Linked DNA regions of Homo sapiens: regions 1 and 2 are each linked to region 3. Evidence: promoter capture Hi-C in human tissues and cell types (Jung and others, 2019). All regions are on one chromosome and are shown on one strand. The core of a region is centred on a gene start or on the middle of the fragment in contact, and the rest is flanking DNA. Distances in the headings are between cores, read along the strand shown. Region 1 holds the start of FOXA2 (forkhead box A2). Region 2 has its middle 29 kb from the start of LINC01747. Region 3 holds the start of THBD (thrombomodulin).

Region 1 (3,058 bases), core at 228-2,727, 470 kb after region 3:
TGCCTACTGCTACCTCCTCGCTTGCCTTCCAGCCTCACCCTTACTCAAGCTTCAATGCGAAGCTCCGTGTCTGCCATCTCGCCTGTCTTCTGCCACCATCGCCCCCAATTTTGGACAGGTGGGCTGGATGCCCACTAGTTCCTATGCATTCTCTGTGTCTGAGGGGGTGGGTACAGGGCTGGATCCCCAAGGTCCAGCCAGGTTTTCAGAACCAAGAAAGAGCCTCCACATCCAAACACCTGCAATATCCCCCCACTCCAAATCTGGGCTCACAGGCTAACCCAGAACAGAAGACAATTTTTGAACCCAAGAGCTGCTGGGGAAATAAAAGTATACGATTGCTGGAGTTTCTAATTTCTATTAAGCAGTCCCTCTGGAAGACAGAGAGGACAGAGACGCTCTTGAAGTCAACTCCATATGCCCCATCATTGATTCCTGGATTCTTCTCTCCTCACCCCTCCCTCCCCACCTCCTGCCCTGTTTGTTTTAGTTACGAAATGCTGTGGGCACCTCGGTTGTGACTGAAAAGTAACCTTGAAACACGCCGGCCTGAATATCAGAGACAAATCTCAGCCTCCCAACCGTCGGCCGCTGCTAGAGGGGCTGCTTGCGCCAGGCGCCGGCCGCCCCACTGCGGGTCCCTGGCGGCCGGTGTCTGAGGAGTCGGAGAGCCGAGGCGGCCAGACCGTGCGCCCCGCGCTTCTCCCGAGGCCGTTCCGGGTCTGAACTGTAACAGGGAGGGGCCTCGCAGGAGCAGCAGCGGGCGAGTTAAAGGTGTGTACGTAGTTTTTCTAAATAGGACAGCGCTTTGCAAATTGGCTGTCATGGACTTGCTGTTTTGACAGAGAATGAGCACTGAGAGCGAAGAAACCCGGCATAAATAAATCCGGCTTTCATAGGGATCTGCCGGGCACTGAGGCTGGACGCGCCCTCCGACAGGCGCACCGGGCGCCCGGCGCGATGAGACGGGGCGGGGGCTGGAGGCCGGAGCCGCCCCAGAGGGTGGTTTCCTCCCAGGTCCCTCCTTCCTCAGGGGACTCGCTGTGGACCCGGGAGGAAAGGGGGCTCGACCAGGGATCCCGCGTGCCCGATCGCCCGCCCAGCCCGCTCCCCTGGCCCGCCCAGGAGTGCGGGGCGCCGCGGCGGTGGGGCGGACGGCAGGCGCTGAGGGGCAGGTGCGGAGCGCCGGCTGCGGCTACCTCTCACCTAGGTGTGAGCTGATTATTCAAATGGGCTGCCCCGGGTCTGGGGATTGGAGGCCCGCGCCAGCGCGCCGCGCTATATCACCAGCCTCCCACGTCACTGCGGCACTTGTCCGCTCCGCGGTCCACACCTCCTCCTCCTCCTCCTCCTCCTCCTCCTCCTCCTCCTCCTCCACCACCACCACCGCCTCCTCCTCCTCCTTCCTCCTCCTCCTCCCCACCCCCCCACTAGCCCCCGCGCCGCGCGCTTCCCGCCGCCTCGGGGCAGCTCGGCACTGCCAACCTCAGCCGCCACCCGGCAGCCCGTGAGCGCGGCGGCGGCGGGTGCTCCCTACCGCGGGGCGCTGGCCTGGGCCTCCTCCGCTCCTCGCCCCCCCCCACCTCCCGCCCACTTCCAACTACCGCCTCCGGCCTGCCCAGGGAGAGAGAGGGAGTGGAGCCCAGGGAGAGGGAGCGCGAGAGAGGGAGGGAGGAGGGGACGGTGCTTTGGCTGACTTTTTTTTAAAAGAGGGTGGGGGTGGGGGGTGATTGCTGGTCGTTTGTTGTGGCTGTTAAATTTTAAACTGCCATGCACTCGGCTTCCAGTATGCTGGGAGCGGTGAAGATGGAAGGGCACGAGCCGTCCGACTGGAGCAGCTACTATGCAGAGCCCGAGGTAAGCGCTCGTCTTTTCCAGGGGGAAGTGGAGCGGCGGCGCTCGCTCCTTCCCCAACCTCAGGACCGCTTCCCTCGCTGGCACCCCCCCACCCCGCCCCACAACCCCAGCCTTTCTGGGCAGCCGCCTTTTCCGCCCTCCTTGGAATCAAATGGGTCTCTTTTTTATACGACACACTGTTAGCCTTGAGATAATATTAACTTTGTGATCAAATATTGACTTGCGGCGCCTCCAAATCCTCTTCGTGGCCGAGCCACGCACTATCCTAACAGAGTTATGTTTGGCAGCGCGCGGCTGGGGAGGGGTGGGAGGTCGGCCGGCGAGGGGGTGGGGAGCTGAGGAGGAGAAGATGGGTAGGAGTTGGGGGCTGAAGTGGAGGCAGAGTCAAAGACTAGTGGACAAAGAGAAAGAAAGTTTTTGCCTGCAAAGCTCAGCCGCGTGTGGTTCAGGTCTCGGTTCTTTCCCTATTGCCCCGTTCAGTGCCTCCAGCCGCCCCCGCACTCCGCACAGGCACTGCCTTGCAGTTTCCCTGGGACAAGGGAGGGGGTCCCTGGAGGGAGACCGGACAGAGGGGGCCCGGGACAGTCTTCGCTGGAGGCAGCCCGAGGCGCCCCGCGCGTTGTCCCGCAGGTTGCTTGCTGCGACCGGAGGTGGCGTCCGGGGACTTCGGGCCTCGGCGCCAGCTCAGTATGCTGGTGGGAGAGTTTGGGGAGACTCTGGGGTAGGGGAATGTATTTGGGGTGCTGGCTTGGGAGTACTCCATGGGACCCCTGTTCTAGAATCTGGGCGAGGTGGAGAAGGGCTAGGAACGGGCCACATGCCCAAGCAGCAATCCGCTCGCCACCTTCCCAAGGGCGATCGATCATGACTCTCCCTGAATGAAACAGACTCGGAGTCCGGAGACTGGGCCATCGGGGACGAAAGGGCTCCCCGGAGGCCTCCCCGGACGCGGAGGCCTGGGCGGTGGGTGGGAGGTCTGGGCACCCTCCAGCCGCGGTGCTAACGCTGTCGCCTCCCTCCCGGGGCTCTGTCCGCAGGGCTACTCCTCCGTGAGCAACATGAACGCCGGCCTGGGGATGAACGGCATGAACACGTACATGAGCATGTCGGCGGCCGCCATGGGCAGCGGCTCGGGCAACATGAGCGCGGGCTCCATGAACATGTCGTCGTACGTGGGCGCTGGCATGAGCCCGTCCCTGGC
Region 2 (3,162 bases), core at 614-3,113, 390 kb after region 3:
GTGGATGGGTATAAACTCCAGAACTGGCCTCCACACTTGTGGGCCGTCCATACTACTCCTGTGGGGAGGACAAAAAAGGGAAGCATCGGCCAGGGGAACAGAGCACTCCTGGTCTGAATTTGTGGGCTCTGAGTTGGGATATTACCACACACTCTACTGATCACAGATGGACCCATAATGCCGGTGCTTAAAAAAAGGCCCTGGAGCAACTAAGGAGGAACTGACATGCTTGCCCCTGGGAATCGGGGCTAATGCATTTAGGCTAAATGAAGTTTTATGATCTAGCTGTTGTCTATTTCTTTTTAAAAATAACAGAAGCACTATTCACAATAGCTAAGATATGGAATCAACCTAAATATTAAATATCCATCCACAGACGAATGGATAAAGAAAATGTGGTATATGTACACAGTGGAATACTATTCAGCCATAAAAAGAATGAAATCCTGTCTTTTGCAGCAACATAAAGGATCCTGGAGAACATTATGCTAAGTGAAGTAAGCCAGGCATAGACAGACACATACTGCATGTTCTCACTTAAATGTGGAAACTAAAAATTGAGCTCATAGATGTAAAGAGAAAACCAGACTTATGAACTATGGCAAGGACCCTTCCCCACCTCTCTTCACAGGTGTAGGGGACATTGCTCCCAAAGGAGATCTGGGTTTCCTCTCACCTAGTGGATGACAATATTGGCTGCCCATTAGAATCATGGGGAGGGGAGAGCTTCTTGAAAACCCATGTGTCAGCTCCAACCTTCATCAGTCTCTAAAGAAAATAATAATTTTTTAGAAAAAGAAATCTACAGTGTCAGGTCTTTAAAAAAAAAAACAAAAAACAGTCTGTTAACACCAATGTTCACAGAAGGATTACTCACAATACCCAAAAGATGAAAGCAACTCAAGTGTTTATCAATCAATGGATGAATGGATATGCAAATGTAGTTATCTCCACACAATGGAATATTATACAGCCTCAAAAAGGAGGGAAGTTCTCACATGTTACAATACGGATGAACATTGAGAACATTAGACTAAGTGATGTAAGCCAGTCACAAAAGAACAAATACTGTATGATCCAACTTACTTGAGGTATACCTAGAGTAGTCAAATTCATAGAGACAGAGAGTAGAAGGGTGGGTGCTAGACATAGTGGGAGGGGAAGTGAGGAGTTGTTGTCTAATGGTTACAGAGTTTTGGTTTTGCGAGATGAAAAAGTTCTAGAAATGAATGGTGGTGCTGGTTGCATAACAATGTGAACGTACTTGATGTCACTGAACTGTACATTTAAAATTGTTACGATAGTAAATTTTATTATGTATTTTAACATACAACAAAAAAGATGATGCTTCTTGTGCAGGCCTGTCTCTTCCTGTTTTTCTGTTTTACCAGCTGATCCAAAAACATCAACATTTATTTACATGGAAGGATATCTGATCATTCTGAAGAATAAGGGTTAGAACCCAGGGATTCAGATAAGAACTTTAATATAAATTATAAAACTCCATTTAGCTTACTTATGGTTATAGGTATAAGAAACTGAAAGGAATTATGATAATATTAAAACTATTTAGTTGGTTTAAAGAGAAATTTACTCCTTTATGTGTTAATAAAATTATAATTTAAATGCTTAAATAATTTAAACGTGTAAAAATACACAAGTATTTGGATAATACAGGGAAAGTGCCCTGACTCGCCATCTATATCCAAAACAATATCGAAACACAGCTGAGCCACAGCCTCCTGCAGTCAAACTGACATTTACTAGAGTTGCGTTTTTCAAGGCAACTCGAGGTAGAAGAAAATCCAGTGACCCACTCAAAAAATTCTTTCATCTACCTCATCGTAGGCAGCACATGAAAACACCTGGGAAGAATGGAAGGGTGCAGAGAGGTGACCCATTTGCATAAAATAAACTTCAGCTGACAAAATACAGGTAATCAAACAGGAAAATGCAAATTGCTCATTAACTTCTCAGAGTCAATGAACCTGGCCATGAAGATTCAACCCACCAAGGAGAATCTATCTGCAGCTCCCCAGGTGGCCTCAAAACCACCATAGTAGTCACCGTCTTCCTTTTGGAGGACACAGGAGGGAGAAAGTAGCAGAAACCTTTCGACCTAAACTCCTTCGCGCGTGGATGGGCACACTAGGGCAACTGGGCCCACGCGGGCCTCCAAAGGGAGGGTGTTCCCAGAGCTGGGGACAACAACACTTTCTAAAAATGTTCAGAAGAACCAGAGACACGGCATTCGTGTGTTTCAGTGCAAGCTGTATGTGTATGAGTGTGTAAGGGAGTGTGTGAGTCCATCAGTGAGAACGTGTGTGAGGGCCTGTATGTAAAGAAATGTGCTTACAAACGTCTATGTGGGTGTGGGGATGTGTATGAGGTAGTGTGAGACTGTATGTGCATGTGTGATAGTTTATGTGGGAGTGCGTGTTGGTCTCTGAGGTGAGCATGCATGTGCAGTGCTGATGAGTGTGTGTGCATGTGAGTGTGCATGAGTGAGAGTGTGTATATGCTTGAGCATCTCCGTGTATTGAACACGTTTATACTTGTCTGTTTTTAGATTTGTATGCAAGTGTGTGTGAATGTATGTCTATGAATGTGTGTGAGTTTGTGTGAATATCTGTGTGAGTGCACATGTTGTATATGTATGTATATGTGTGTGCATATCGGTGTGCATATATGTGCATGTGTGTGCATGTATGAATGTATATATATCTGTGTTTGGAAATGTATATATGTGTAAATGTATGTGTATATCTCTGAGTGAATGTGGACGTGTGTGAATTTGTGTGTGTGTCTATATGTGTGAATGTGTACACATATCTGCATGTGTCTAGATGTGTGCACGTGTGTGCATGTGTGACTGTGTATATCTCTGTGTTTGCACATGTATATATGTTTGTGTTAATTTGTGTGTATATTTGTATGTGATCATGTGCATGTGCGCAGATGTGTATATACCTCTGTGTGTATGTTTGTGAGTGTGTGTCTATCTGTGTGCATGTGTGTATATCTGTGTGTGAGCATGTGCGTGTGTGTGGATTTGTGTATTTATGTGTGTATGGGTGTGTGTGGATGTGTGTCTATCTGTGTGTATATCTGTGCATGAGCATGTGCATGTGTGTGGATTTGTGTATCTACGCGTGTATAGGT
Region 3 (3,092 bases), core at 567-3,066:
ACTGCTCCCGCCGGACAAGCCCTACTGTGCTATCTGCCGCTCTTCCCTTCCTCTTCCCAGGGGGTCCGCGTCAGGGGAGGCGCAGCTGTGTGCATTCCGGGAGCTTCAGACCCCCGTGTCCAGCAGCTCCTTCGTTTCCTGGGTGCTGGGGCGGCCTTCCCAGCGAAGAGCTCAACTCAGCGGGACGTTTGGAGGCTCTCTGCCCCAAGGCGCTGGGGAGTGTGCGGCGGGACAGTCGTGCTTGCCTTTTTCACTTTCAGAGTGTCCACGCCCCACCCGTTTGGTCACTGCAGGTCAGTCCAGTCCAGCCCGGCCCACCCCACCGGTGCGTGTCTGTCGCACGTGGCAGACGCCATACTCTCTGTTCTTGTTTAAAGCCCAGGATCTACTGGGCCCTGGAGGCAAGAGGTGAACGCAGCGGAATCCACGCTGAGCTGCCCGGGAACGGAGCTTCCAACCCCAGAAGGAGGACTCTGTGCTCCTACACCTTAACCCTTTTTAGCCCGAAACTTCTCCAACTTCCTTGGCTTTGTTTAGAGCTCGACAGCGCCGCCCCCTGGCGCTCGTTGTGAGGACAGTAGAGGAGAGAGGCAAGGGTGTTTTTAAACAGTTTGCCTCTCACCATTATGGGGGCGACCCGAGGGGGAGACCCACTCTTCCGCATTCCCGGTAAGTGAACCACCGGAAGAGGTCGAAAGTGACGGATTCCCATGTCCTCCTCCAGCCCCCCCCCCACCCTGCCCATCCACAGGACGGTGGCTCTTCAGTGCCCTTTGCCGAGCAAGTGGCGTTTCTATGCACGTGGGTATCAATTCGGACTCTGGACGAAATGGAAACCTCCTTAGCCGACCCGGGTGGGATCAGCTGGGATCCTGCGCGCTCCCCTGGGGGGTTGCCAGCCACTCTGTTGGGGTGCAAGAAGCACCATCCTTCGGAAGCTGGGCCGAAACTGGCCAGGCTGACTCGCTCCCACGCGCCCGCCCCTACCCGGCGCCGCAGCAATTCACCTGCCACCGCCTCTGAGCCGGGTCCGGACTTCGGCGCCCTGACAGTGTCCCCGCGACTTCCCCACCCGATGAGATGGGGTCTGGCGTTGGCCAGTGCGTGTCCAGGGACTCGCGGGTCCCTGGCCAGCCATGGGGCAGAGGGCGCTGGTGTTAGGCCAGTCTTCCCCACCCTGCCCCGTCACCCCAGCCACACCCACTGTCCTGTGAGGCCAAGCGCGCTCCGCTGGTTTCCTGAGCCAGGCACCTTGGCCGCGGACAGGATCCAGCTGTCTCTCCTTGCGATCCTGTCTTCGGGGAAGTCCACGTCCTAGGCAGGTCCTCCCAAAGTGCCCTTGGTGCCGATCACCCCTCCCAGCGTCTTGCAGGTCCTGTGCACCACCTCCCCCACTCCCCATTCAAAGCCCTCTTCTCTGAAGTCTCCGGTTCCCAGAGCTCTTGCAATCCAGGCTTTCCTTGGAAGTGGCTGTAACATGTATGAAAAGAAAGAAAGGAGGACCAAGAGATGAAAGAGGGCTGCACGCGTGGGGGCCCGAGTGGTGGGCGGGGACAGTCGTCTTGTTACAGGGGTGCTGGCCTTCCCTGGCGCCTGCCCCTGTCGGCCCCGCCCGAGAACCTCCCTGCGCCAGGGCAGGGTTTACTCATCCCGGCGAGGTGATCCCATGCGCGAGGGCGGGCGCAAGGGCGGCCAGAGAACCCAGCAATCCGAGTATGCGGCATCAGCCCTTCCCACCAGGCACTTCCTTCCTTTTCCCGAACGTCCAGGGAGGGAGGGCCGGGCACTTATAAACTCGAGCCCTGGCCGATCCGCATGTCAGAGGCTGCCTCGCAGGGGCTGCGCGCAGCGGCAAGAAGTGTCTGGGCTGGGACGGACAGGAGAGGCTGTCGCCATCGGCGTCCTGTGCCCCTCTGCTCCGGCACGGCCCTGTCGCAGTGCCCGCGCTTTCCCCGGCGCCTGCACGCGGCGCGCCTGGGTAACATGCTTGGGGTCCTGGTCCTTGGCGCGCTGGCCCTGGCCGGCCTGGGGTTCCCCGCACCCGCAGAGCCGCAGCCGGGTGGCAGCCAGTGCGTCGAGCACGACTGCTTCGCGCTCTACCCGGGCCCCGCGACCTTCCTCAATGCCAGTCAGATCTGCGACGGACTGCGGGGCCACCTAATGACAGTGCGCTCCTCGGTGGCTGCCGATGTCATTTCCTTGCTACTGAACGGCGACGGCGGCGTTGGCCGCCGGCGCCTCTGGATCGGCCTGCAGCTGCCACCCGGCTGCGGCGACCCCAAGCGCCTCGGGCCCCTGCGCGGCTTCCAGTGGGTTACGGGAGACAACAACACCAGCTATAGCAGGTGGGCACGGCTCGACCTCAATGGGGCTCCCCTCTGCGGCCCGTTGTGCGTCGCTGTCTCCGCTGCTGAGGCCACTGTGCCCAGCGAGCCGATCTGGGAGGAGCAGCAGTGCGAAGTGAAGGCCGATGGCTTCCTCTGCGAGTTCCACTTCCCAGCCACCTGCAGGCCACTGGCTGTGGAGCCCGGCGCCGCGGCTGCCGCCGTCTCGATCACCTACGGCACCCCGTTCGCGGCCCGCGGAGCGGACTTCCAGGCGCTGCCGGTGGGCAGCTCCGCCGCGGTGGCTCCCCTCGGCTTACAGCTAATGTGCACCGCGCCGCCCGGAGCGGTCCAGGGGCACTGGGCCAGGGAGGCGCCGGGCGCTTGGGACTGCAGCGTGGAGAACGGCGGCTGCGAGCACGCGTGCAATGCGATCCCTGGGGCTCCCCGCTGCCAGTGCCCAGCCGGCGCCGCCCTGCAGGCAGACGGGCGCTCCTGCACCGCATCCGCGACGCAGTCCTGCAACGACCTCTGCGAGCACTTCTGCGTTCCCAACCCCGACCAGCCGGGCTCCTACTCGTGCATGTGCGAGACCGGCTACCGGCTGGCGGCCGACCAACACCGGTGCGAGGACGTGGATGACTGCATACTGGAGCCCAGTCCGTGTCCGCAGCGCTGTGTCAACACACAGGGTGGCTTCGAGTGCCACTGCTACCCTAACTACGACCTGGTGGACGGCGAGTGTGTGGAGCCCGTGGACCCGTGCTT

Evidence for each region. The method cuts DNA at HindIII sites, captures the fragments that hold promoters and counts their contacts. A contact is called where the count stands out against the background at its distance.
Region 1: a contact is called between the fragment with the promoter of FOXA2 here and the fragment with the promoter of THBD in region 3, in 3 of the 25 tissues and cell types used here (heart right ventricle, neural progenitor cells and thymus).
Region 2: a contact is called between a fragment that was not itself captured here and the fragment with the promoter of THBD in region 3, in 2 of the 25 tissues and cell types used here (neural progenitor cells and thymus).

What each region holds. Positions count from the first base shown.
Region 1 is chr20:22,582,991-22,586,048 of GRCh38, reverse strand. It overlaps FOXA2 (forkhead box A2), which reads left to right and starts at 1,477. Exons shown (of 2, transcript NM_021784.5): 1 at 1,477-1,857; 2 at 2,895-3,058. The coding sequence starts at 1,771. RefSeq lists enhancers at 692-1,447, 2,872-3,058. The HindIII fragment of the contact is 10,630 bases long and covers 1-3,058 here.
Region 2 is chr20:22,654,323-22,657,484 of GRCh38, reverse strand. No RefSeq gene overlaps it. Among named protein-coding and RNA genes, the nearest start is that of LINC01747, 29 kb to the left of the region's middle. The HindIII fragment of the contact is 5,260 bases long and covers 1-3,162 here.
Region 3 is chr20:23,048,396-23,051,487 of GRCh38, reverse strand. It overlaps THBD (thrombomodulin), which reads left to right and starts at 1,816. Exons shown (of 1, transcript NM_000361.3): 1 at 1,816-3,092. The coding sequence starts at 1,984. The HindIII fragment of the contact is 7,811 bases long and covers 1-3,092 here.